Regions from separate parts of the Homo sapiens genome. Here regions 2 and 3 are each linked to region 1. The links are contacts of gene promoters, found by promoter capture Hi-C in blood cells and fetal thymus (Javierre and others, 2016). All regions are on one chromosome and are shown on one strand. Each heading gives the region's core, a stretch centred on a gene start or on the middle of the fragment in contact. The rest is flanking DNA. Distances are from core to core; before and after follow the strand shown. Region 1 holds the start of RUNX1T1 (RUNX1 partner transcriptional co-repressor 1). Region 2 overlaps CIBAR1-DT (CIBAR1 divergent transcript). Region 3 overlaps CIBAR1-DT (CIBAR1 divergent transcript).

Region 1 (3,001 bases), core at 191-2,690:
AGTATGGTGTACATAAAATTTTATAGTTTAAGATTATTCATGCTATTAAGATTTGCGACTATAGCAAAATATAAAGAACTGTAATACAGAAATTATTATAGAATGTACACCTTGATAAAATGAGATTCAAATTAAGAGCATCATAATATCAAATACCAAGACTTAACATTGCAATTCATTAATCTATTATAATTCATTAGACAAATGTCCCAAGGAGAGGGGAGAATGTACAATGAGTGTTTTCTGGAAATGAATTGCTAAAAATTAGTAGAGTCTGAAAAGACTTCAGAATTGGAAGCTCCAGCTGGGTTTAAAAGGATGGGGGAAGGGATTTTACTCACTATTAAATATTTGAAACACCACTTCAGAAAATAAAACCCACAAATGTCTCATCAGTTCTCAACTGCATCAGACCGACTCAGACTCTATCTGATGCCTTTTTTCCTTTGTAAAAATGAGATTTTAAAACACGTATTCAGGACATCTTACATTGATTTAGGCTAGTTGGAGAAAACATGGTTCAGAGTAGGATTTCAAATAGTTCCACTAAATACAATAACATTTGCAGTCAGGGTACCGTTCCATAGTAATTTTAAAAGATTTCATTTTACTTATCATTGCAAGCCATTATCTGATCATATTTGACCTACATATTAATATTTTCATTATTATTCAAGCCCTTTTTGGCTCTGTACAAATTGTCAGTCCTCTTCACCGAGATTATTTATTTACTCTGGAAATATCTGGAATTCTTTCACCCTATCTTTTCCTCCGGGACTACCCCCCACACTGCCCCCAAGTATTGATATTAATGTCTGGGGGAGGGGGACACATCTAACAAAAACCTGAGATAGAAAGCCGTCCCTCTTAATGGTATACTATGGGAGAAGTAGAAAAACAAAGAGAATAAAAGAAAATGATAATTGTTTTCTCTAAGGCTATTATCTAATGCGAAAGCAAATAGTCAGTCTGGAAATCAGCTAACAGAAGGGGATTAGAGAGGAGATCTGAGAGTGGCTTGATTTCTAGCAGAGCTGTCTCTTCAGCCAGTGATGAGACACAGGCAGGGCAGCCGGGAGCGCTCCAGATGGCCGGGGAAAGTGGTCGTCTTGGGTTACTGCAGGGCACTCGGGCCGCCTGAGAGCTGGCGGCCCGGGAAGGCATCATTAGGGAGCCAACCCCACGTCCAGCCTGCATGGGAGAGGGCGAGGCCGGGAGGGAGGCCGCCCGCCAGCCCGCGCGCCCTAGCGTGCCGGGCCTGCCCATTGTTAACATATACTTGACCTCCGTGACCCCCGCACAACACAGATGTCTCCCACCTCCACCTCCCCCACGCCCCGCCGCGGGTCCTCCCCCCTGCACCTGGTAGCGGCCGCGCAGCCGCCTCCCTCCCGACCGGCCGCGGCGCCCCTGGCGCGAGCGTGCGCCGGAGCCGGCCTGATGCGGGCGCTCTCGGCGCACAGCGCGCGGCGCTCCTGCTCCCCGGCGGACGCCCGGCCGCCCTGCAGATAAATGCGTCGCCTTCCTCGAGAGTGAGCGAGGGCGGGCGAGGGAGACGCAGACGCCGCCTGTGACAGTGGCAATTCCCTGCGCCCCACATCACATTTGTCTGCCACAGCAGCAACAACAGAAAAGCGGAGGGAGGGAGGGAGGCGGGAGGAGGGGAGCAGAGCTCCGCAAGTCTTGGGCTCTGCGTGGAGGTTGCGTTTGGCTGGCGTCCCCGACCCCGGGCTTTTTGCACGGCAGCTCTCTCTGCGCAGCGCCGGGCGGCCGTAGTCGCTCCGCGGCGCGACTCCGCGGTCTCGTGGCGAGCGCGCGTGGGCGAGTGGCCGCGGACACTCTGGCCTCGCGAGGGAAGCCGCGCCGCGTCCTCGCCCCGTCGCCCCGCGGGCCGGCCGAGACGACGGGAAGTTTTATTTGCAGCTCGGAGCCTGTGGCGGATGGTGGGACTCTCCGGCCCTGTGCAGTGTAAGTGTCCGCGGTAGGGCTTGGCCGGCGGGCGGGCGGCGGGGTCGGGCCCCTGACTGTTATTAATTACTGTTCCGATGACCGTCATCTTCGTTTGGATTATTCGACCGCGAGGCTCCAGGCTGTACTTGTCGCTCAATTAGGGTAGGACTACGCACCAGGGCAAAGAGGAACATCGCGGGTGACTCCGGTCTGCGATGACACTGAACTTCGCGGGTCAGCCGAGGATGCAGTTTTTACTATTATATTCCCCACAGTGTCTTTTAAAAATAATTTTTCTTCCCTCTCCATAGTCACGGTATGCGAGCAGGAAGATGACGAGTGGGTTTCTCCCCCGACAAAACAACCGATCGAGGTGCCCACAGTGCATTTGGCAGGTGGCCCTATGCCCGCATCGTGGGTTTTTTTCTTTTCCTTTCTTTTTTTTTTTTTTCTTTTCTTTTTCTGTAAACTGGAAGCAAAGACTTGTTTTGATGGTGGAAAACTTAGCCCTAAGGAGTAAAGAGGCGGGATCTTAACTTTGGGACCCGGCTGCAACTAGGGTGGGGGTTTGCTTAGAGGTACCCAGGCGCTCTGCGCCTGCCTGCGAACTTTCCTTGTTACTCCTGGCCGTTTGGGGTGCTGGACTGGGAAGCTCCTGGGTGAGCGGGCGGACGGCGGCTCCCGCCCGAGGCTGGTCCCGGGCTTCGCAGTCAGGGGCCGATGGGGAGAGTCGTCCCCGCCCGACCTCTGCGCGCTCTGGACTCAGCCGCCCCGGCCCTCCTGGGTGTTCCCGTCGCGGCCCCGACTCGGTGCCCGCTTCTTCTGAGTGGGGAGCACAACCTTGTGCCCTGTAGCTCCCGCCCGAAGGGGTCCAGACTTGGAGCCACGTCCGGATAATTCCTTTCGTTTTCCAGAAACCCCTCTGGTGAAGCCCCCGGGCCAGTGGAGACGCGCTCCAGGGCCCGCCGCTCACCGCCCTCTTTGCGAACCTGAAAGGACCGGGTTGGTTGGCGCACCCAGACCTCTTTCCCGGGGGGGACCTGGCGCTGAC
Region 2 (3,001 bases), core at 168-2,667, 1.5 Mb before region 1:
TCTGCCTTATCTCTGAGATTCTCATTCTTTTGAATTGGAAAGCTTTTTCACTGGCCAATTTAGGTTGGAAAAAAATTCAAAATTTCCTACCAGTACCCCTCATGCTTTTCTCTGAGTTGATATATCATATAGAAACATTATTACTTTACAGAGAAAATCAAACCTAAAGAATAGGAAGGCCTTAAAATGCAGGCTGACCCAAAGACATACAATTAGAACAATGGACCCAGGCTGGCGGCCAGCCAAGCGCCTTAAGGCAGGGCTATCCAAAGACTGAGTATGCAGACAGGCTGTGGATGGGTTACAATGTGACAAAATAGTGGCACCCTCAGCCCAAGGGTGGCTGAAGAAGGGCCCAAGCCAGCTGGAGGTGCCTCCCTGGACCAGTTGCCTCTGACTGGTAACAGCTATATCATCAAGGACAATTTTTTTTTTTTTTAAAGAGATGAAAGTTTCATTCTGTTGCCCAGGCTGGAGTGCAGTGGTGCAATCACAGTTCACTGTAACCTTCAATGCCTGGACTTAAGCGATCCTCTCGTCTCAGCCTCCTCAGTAGCTGGGACAACAGGCTCACTTCACCATGCCTGGCTAATTTTAAAAAATTGTATATAGAGACAGGGTCTTGCTGTGTTGCCCAGGCTGGCCTCAAACTCCTGGCCTTAAGCGATCCTCTTGCTTTGGCCTCCCAAAGTGCTGGGATTATAGGAGTGAGCTACAGTGCCTGTGCCAGCAAGGACAAAAATTATTTTTCATGTGTGCCATGATGTGAAAAAGGTTCTGAAGCTATGACTGAAGGATTGAGCACTTTAGGCCTATAACAGGCAGTATTGTCTATAAAGGAGGAAAGTGAGGGGTAAAGTATCATTAAAAAGCTCAAACTATATTCAAGATTTATCATGCACAAGCAGGGACAGCATAGATGAATTCCAGGTTTCCAGAAAGACAACTTCGTTGCCACAGAGTTGCCCAGATAGAGCACACAGTGAATGGTGCCCCCTGAAGTTGTACAATGCAAGAGATCCTGTGTGGGGGTCTAGCTGTCAGGTCAGATGAAGCCTGGAGTTTGAAGGTAAAAATTCTACTCCAGCCAGTGGGTTTGGGGGCTGGGACTTACCTCTTGGGCAGATACTGCCACAGGTTACAACGCAGAAACCCATTCATCTGGGAAACCCATTTATCGGCCAATGCCAGGGTGAACCTGGAAACCAGAATGAAGTCCTACCAATGCCCAGGCTGGTGGCTTAAGGCCTCTTAGGGCAAGAGGGCAAGCCTGGTGTCAGACTGGAGCAGAGACAGATTTCAAAGTAAAGGCTTTCCTGGATTTAGGTTTGAAGAAAGAAGCCAGATGGAAAGCCAAGCCCCACGACAAAACGACCCTCTCTTTAGGGCTCTTGCGGCTGTGCTTGCAGATCAGCCGACCATTCCCTACTCCCACATTTAGGTAGCTTTGCTCCTTGCTGAAGTTCAAGAACATTTGGAGTCTGTTCTGCCACATCAGATTGCAGAATTTTTAAAAAAATTGAGTGGGTTAAGTAACAAGCTCAGATAATCATGCTCAGCCCTCATAGCCGCATTTGAGTCATATATTAATGCAGGGACATTAATCTGCTCTCTTATAAATACAGGATGATTACCCAGATGATGTGTGAAACTCTTTCTAAATTTCTTTTCTTTATTTAGTCCAACATAAGAACTAACATATGGTGCCTTTGCCATGGGTACATGTGGATGAGGTCAGTTATGAAGTAAGCAAAAACTGATTGATACCTGGGTGTGATTTTCAGGATCGATCATTGGGAAAGTACATTAAGGCCTTCTTCTACGACTGGAACAAGGCGTTAGGGGCACAGGGACAAACGAAGTAAAAACCGTAGGCACCAGCCCCAAGGGATAGCAGGGGAAAGGAGGGCTAAGCTGAGGAGTCATTAGAGTAGGTGAGAACTTGGAAACCCATGGAAGTGAGACCCTCCAGTGTGGAGGAGCCTGGCAAGGTCAAGCCTGCATGCTGGAGGAAGGTATGCACCTAAAATACAATAGTTTTTTTTTTTTTATAATGACTTTTTGTTTCTTTTTTTAAAAAGTAGAAACAGGGTCTTGCTATATTGCCCAGGCTGGTCTTGAACTCCTGGCCTCAAGTGACCCTCCTGCCTTGGCCTTCCAAAGTGGTGGGATTACAGGCATGAGCCACCATACCTGCACCTGACCAAAGACAATGGTTTACACCTCTGACTTGGCTTCTGGTTAAGGATTCTTAAAAAAAAAAAAAAAAAGAATGGTTTCATCCAATGTAAGGTAAGTGATTGTGGAAAGAGGCAATTTTGGGTTCCATTCTTTTTTTTTTTTTTTTTTTTGAGATGGAGTTTCACTCTGTTGCCCAGGCTGGAGTGCAGTGGCATATTCTCAGCTCACTGCAGCGTCTGCCTTCCGGGTTCGAACTATTCTCCTGCTTCACCCTTCCCAGTAGCTAGGACTACAGGAGAGCACTACCATACCTAGCTAATTTTTGTATTTTTAGTAGAGACGGGGTTTTACCGTGTTGACCAGGCTGGTCTTGAACTTCTTACCTCAGGTGATCCGCCTGCCTCAACCTCTCAAAGTGCTGGGTTTACAGGCGTGGAGCCACCATGCCCAGCCTGGGCTTCATTCTTTTAAAAAACAAACCAAAAAAATAGCAACAGTAAAAAGAAGGCAAATCTTTGGTTAACTGAGCTGTGATATGATTTGAGAAAGAAAGAATGATAGATCTAAGATCCATGCTAAGAATTTGTAATATTTCTTATCTTTTAAGCTTCCTGCATTTTATTTTTTAAGCTTTTTTTCTCCACAGTGATTATCAATATGCTTTGGGGAGAGAAACACATTTCAGGAGATTGGGGGCTGGTGGCTTGTTGCTAACAGGAATTCTAATAATAAGTGTTCGGCTGTTGGCTGTGCTGGACTTCCCTCTGTCACTCCAAAGCTCTGCCTCCCACCTTTGTATGTTGTTGACAATTTGTGGGAG
Region 3 (3,001 bases), core at 313-2,812, 1.2 Mb before region 1:
ATGGGAGTGGAAGGCAGATCCATATCCAGAATAAGGGTCTGTTCCAGAGAGAGCAGAGTGCTGTCTTTCTGTGACATGGACATGGACTAATGTAATCAACCTGGCAGATTTCCCAGGAAATGCGCCATATCAGGGACTCAGTGTTGGTCTTTTTGCTGACTGGTTGCATATTTGGCAATGATTATAACCAGAGAAGCCAAGTCAGTGTGTGGTTGGGCCCAATACAAATTGTTGACCCATAGAACTATGAGGAAATAAGTGTTTAAGCCACTAATTTTTGATGTAGTTTGTTGGGCAGCAAAAGCTAACTAAAACAGAAATTGGTACTTAGAAGGGGGATGCTGCTATAACAGAAACCTAAAACATGTGGCACTGGTTTTGGAGCAAAACAATTGGAAAAATATTGCATGTGGTCACTTGGAAGATAGAACATTTATCTAATAAACTTGTGGATCTAGTTAAGAAAATTTCCAGGCATATTGTTAATAATGTATAGGCCGAAGGAGATGAACTAAATAAAGAACTGTTTCATTTGCAAACAGAAAGTAGAAACAAGATAGAGGGCTCAGGACCTTCTAAATTAGAAAATAAACTTGTTTTTCATTTCAGTCTCTCCAGTTTGCAAAAGATTCTTCTAAAATCTAATTAAGGGAGTGACTTTAAGACTCTTGCAAAGACCTCAGAAGGATTTGTGGTTGTTCCTAGTATATTATATCAACTCAACAAAATAACTTCTAAAGATCTTGAGGGCATTAACTCACAACATTGTGATATACTGCCTGAAGAAGAAAGAATGCTGCATTAAAAAGAATTGTGTGTGTTTCCTTTGTCTATTGAAATGGATGACTCCCTGATACATAGAAAACCCACAAGGTATTAAAGGGGGCTATATAAGCTTGCATTAAGAGACTAAGACAGAATTTCTTAGGGCAGGAGTTAGGATGAGGAAAGCTATTCATCTGTAAACAAGGGCTATTTCTGATGGTCATATGCACATGACTGTATTCCTGAATTGCTGTGGACCTATGGCTCCTATGTGCTCCCCATTTCTCCTTTTTGAATGGGGTGTCTATTATGATTATCCTCTTGCCATCTCACCATTGTATGTTGGGTATGGGAGAGGATGGAGACAAACTTGTCTGTTTGGTTCATAGATTTCTGGATTAAGAGGAGCCACATGCAAGGAGCTGTAATAGAAGGTCCTCATCCACACCTGGACCAAATGCACTTCCTGAGATCCTGGACTTTCAGTTTGATGATACAATTGGATGAGACTTTTGGGCGGTCTTGGGATGGGGTGAATTCACCTGGCATATGGGAGAAATAGAAATAATTATAGCTAATGGGTGACCGTAGTAGATTAAATATGACCACATATTCTTTACAGCTTGACCCATTAAAAGGCGGGTGTAGGTTTCTCCATTTTTTGAATTATAGCTGCCTCATGACTTGGTTTGACCAACAGAATGTGGCAGAAGTGATGATACTCAAGCTGTGAACCTAAGCCACTAGAGGCCTTGCAGCCTCTGCCCTTGTCCACTCTGTGAATAAGCCAGCCCACTTCTTCCAATGAGGAGAAAGATCCAGCCACCCCAGACTTGCTAGCTGTCCCAGCTGAGGCACCAGATATAGGAGTGAGCTCAGTAGACACTATGTAGGGTAAGGATGAGATGTCTAAGCTGAGCCCAACCCAAACTGCCAACCACAGAATCATAATTGAATACATGATTATTTTAAGCCATAAAGTTTTGGGTGGTTTTGTTACCTAGCAAAATCTAGTTAAGACTCACCTACATTTTGCACATCTTTCACATATAGGTCTTCTATCTCTCTACTGACATTGTAAAAACCTTGAGGGAGGCGACCGAATTTTATAATTTTTGTGACTTCTGCAACACTTAGTACAGGACTGGGTACAGAACATTGCTTTATGAATGCTTTTGGTGTGCCTAAGGTTCTCCTTCCGCTGTTTGAAAATACAGAGTTTGAAAAGTAAAAGAATGTCAGAAGAAAAAGTTTAGGTTAGCTTGGGCTTATCATAGTATCTTGTTTACCCTCACCCTTCCCTGAATTTTTTTTTTAACTAGGAAAGAAGTTTGGTCTTCAGGATCAGAGATAACCAGATTTAAATATTTTTTTCTCTGTTAAACTCTCAGTGGGTGGTAAATAAGTGCCCATTGCCCAGGCTCAGTGGCTCATGCCTGTAATCCCAGCATTTGGGAAGCTTAGGCAGGCAGATCACTTGAGGCCAGGAGTTTGAGACCAGCCTGGCCAATCTGGTGAAACCTTGTCTTTACTAAAAATACAAAAAAATTAGCTGGGCATGGTGGCTCATGCCTGTAATCCCAGCTACCCAGGAGGCTGAGGCATGAATCGTTTGAACCCGGGAGGTGGAGGTTTCAGTGAACCGAGATTGCACCACTGCACTCCAGCATGGGCAACAGAGTGAGACTCCATCTCGGAAAAAAAAAAAAAAGGCCTATTACTTAAAAAAGTAAAAATTATTAATAATACATTATTGTTATATAAACATAATAGTAGTAATAATAGATAAAGTGAGAGCCAAAAGTTTTTTGAAGAGGGGAGTATTGGCTCCAATTCTGAATCTTTTAGCCAGTGCCGATGTCCATCACTGGATCTAATAACCAAATAACTAAAATAACCAGGTAAGTCAAAAGCACGCCAGTGAGAGAACAATGGCCTAGAATCATCTTGCTTCCTTCCTGATCTGATTCTGCTCTGCTCCTATTTTCTCCCAGATCCTGATCTCTGGTTTCATTTCCCATTTGCAACTGACTCCCTCCCTTTGAACTTGGCATTGCTACTAAGTTTTCCTGGCTTGGACCATTAGTAATCTGTACAAATACTGGCTTAGACTCACGTTTTGGGTCTTTCAGTCAGAGTTGCCTTAGATGGGATAACCTGCCCTAATTCAGCTCCTCAAAGACTGACCATCTATCCCAGATTTCTCCCAGTGAAGAGGAGTTCAGACTGCCAATAG

Evidence for each region. The method cuts DNA at HindIII sites, captures the fragments that hold promoters and counts their contacts. A CHiCAGO score of 5 or more calls a contact.
Region 2: a fragment that was not itself captured here is called in contact with the fragment with the promoter of RUNX1T1 in region 1 in 1 of 17 cell types (erythroblasts); the score reaches 7.3 in erythroblasts.
Region 3: a fragment that was not itself captured here is called in contact with the fragment with the promoter of RUNX1T1 in region 1 in 1 of 17 cell types (M0 macrophages); the score reaches 5.3 in M0 macrophages.

Annotation. Positions count from the first base shown.
Region 1 is chr8:92,101,824-92,104,824 of GRCh38, reverse strand. It overlaps RUNX1T1 (RUNX1 partner transcriptional co-repressor 1), which reads left to right and starts at 1,440. Exons shown (of 12, transcript NM_175634.3): 1 at 1,440-1,968. The HindIII fragment of the contact is 6,982 bases long and covers 1-3,001 here.
Region 2 is chr8:93,589,580-93,592,580 of GRCh38, reverse strand. All of the region lies in intron 5 of CIBAR1-DT (CIBAR1 divergent transcript), which reads left to right. Among named protein-coding and RNA genes, the nearest start is that of CIBAR1-DT, 110 kb to the left of the region's middle. The HindIII fragment of the contact is 2,746 bases long and covers 45-2,790 here.
Region 3 is chr8:93,348,818-93,351,818 of GRCh38, reverse strand. All of the region lies in intron 10 of CIBAR1-DT (CIBAR1 divergent transcript), which reads left to right. Among named protein-coding and RNA genes, the nearest start is that of LINC02906, 180 kb to the right of the region's middle. The HindIII fragment of the contact is 1,329 bases long and covers 898-2,226 here.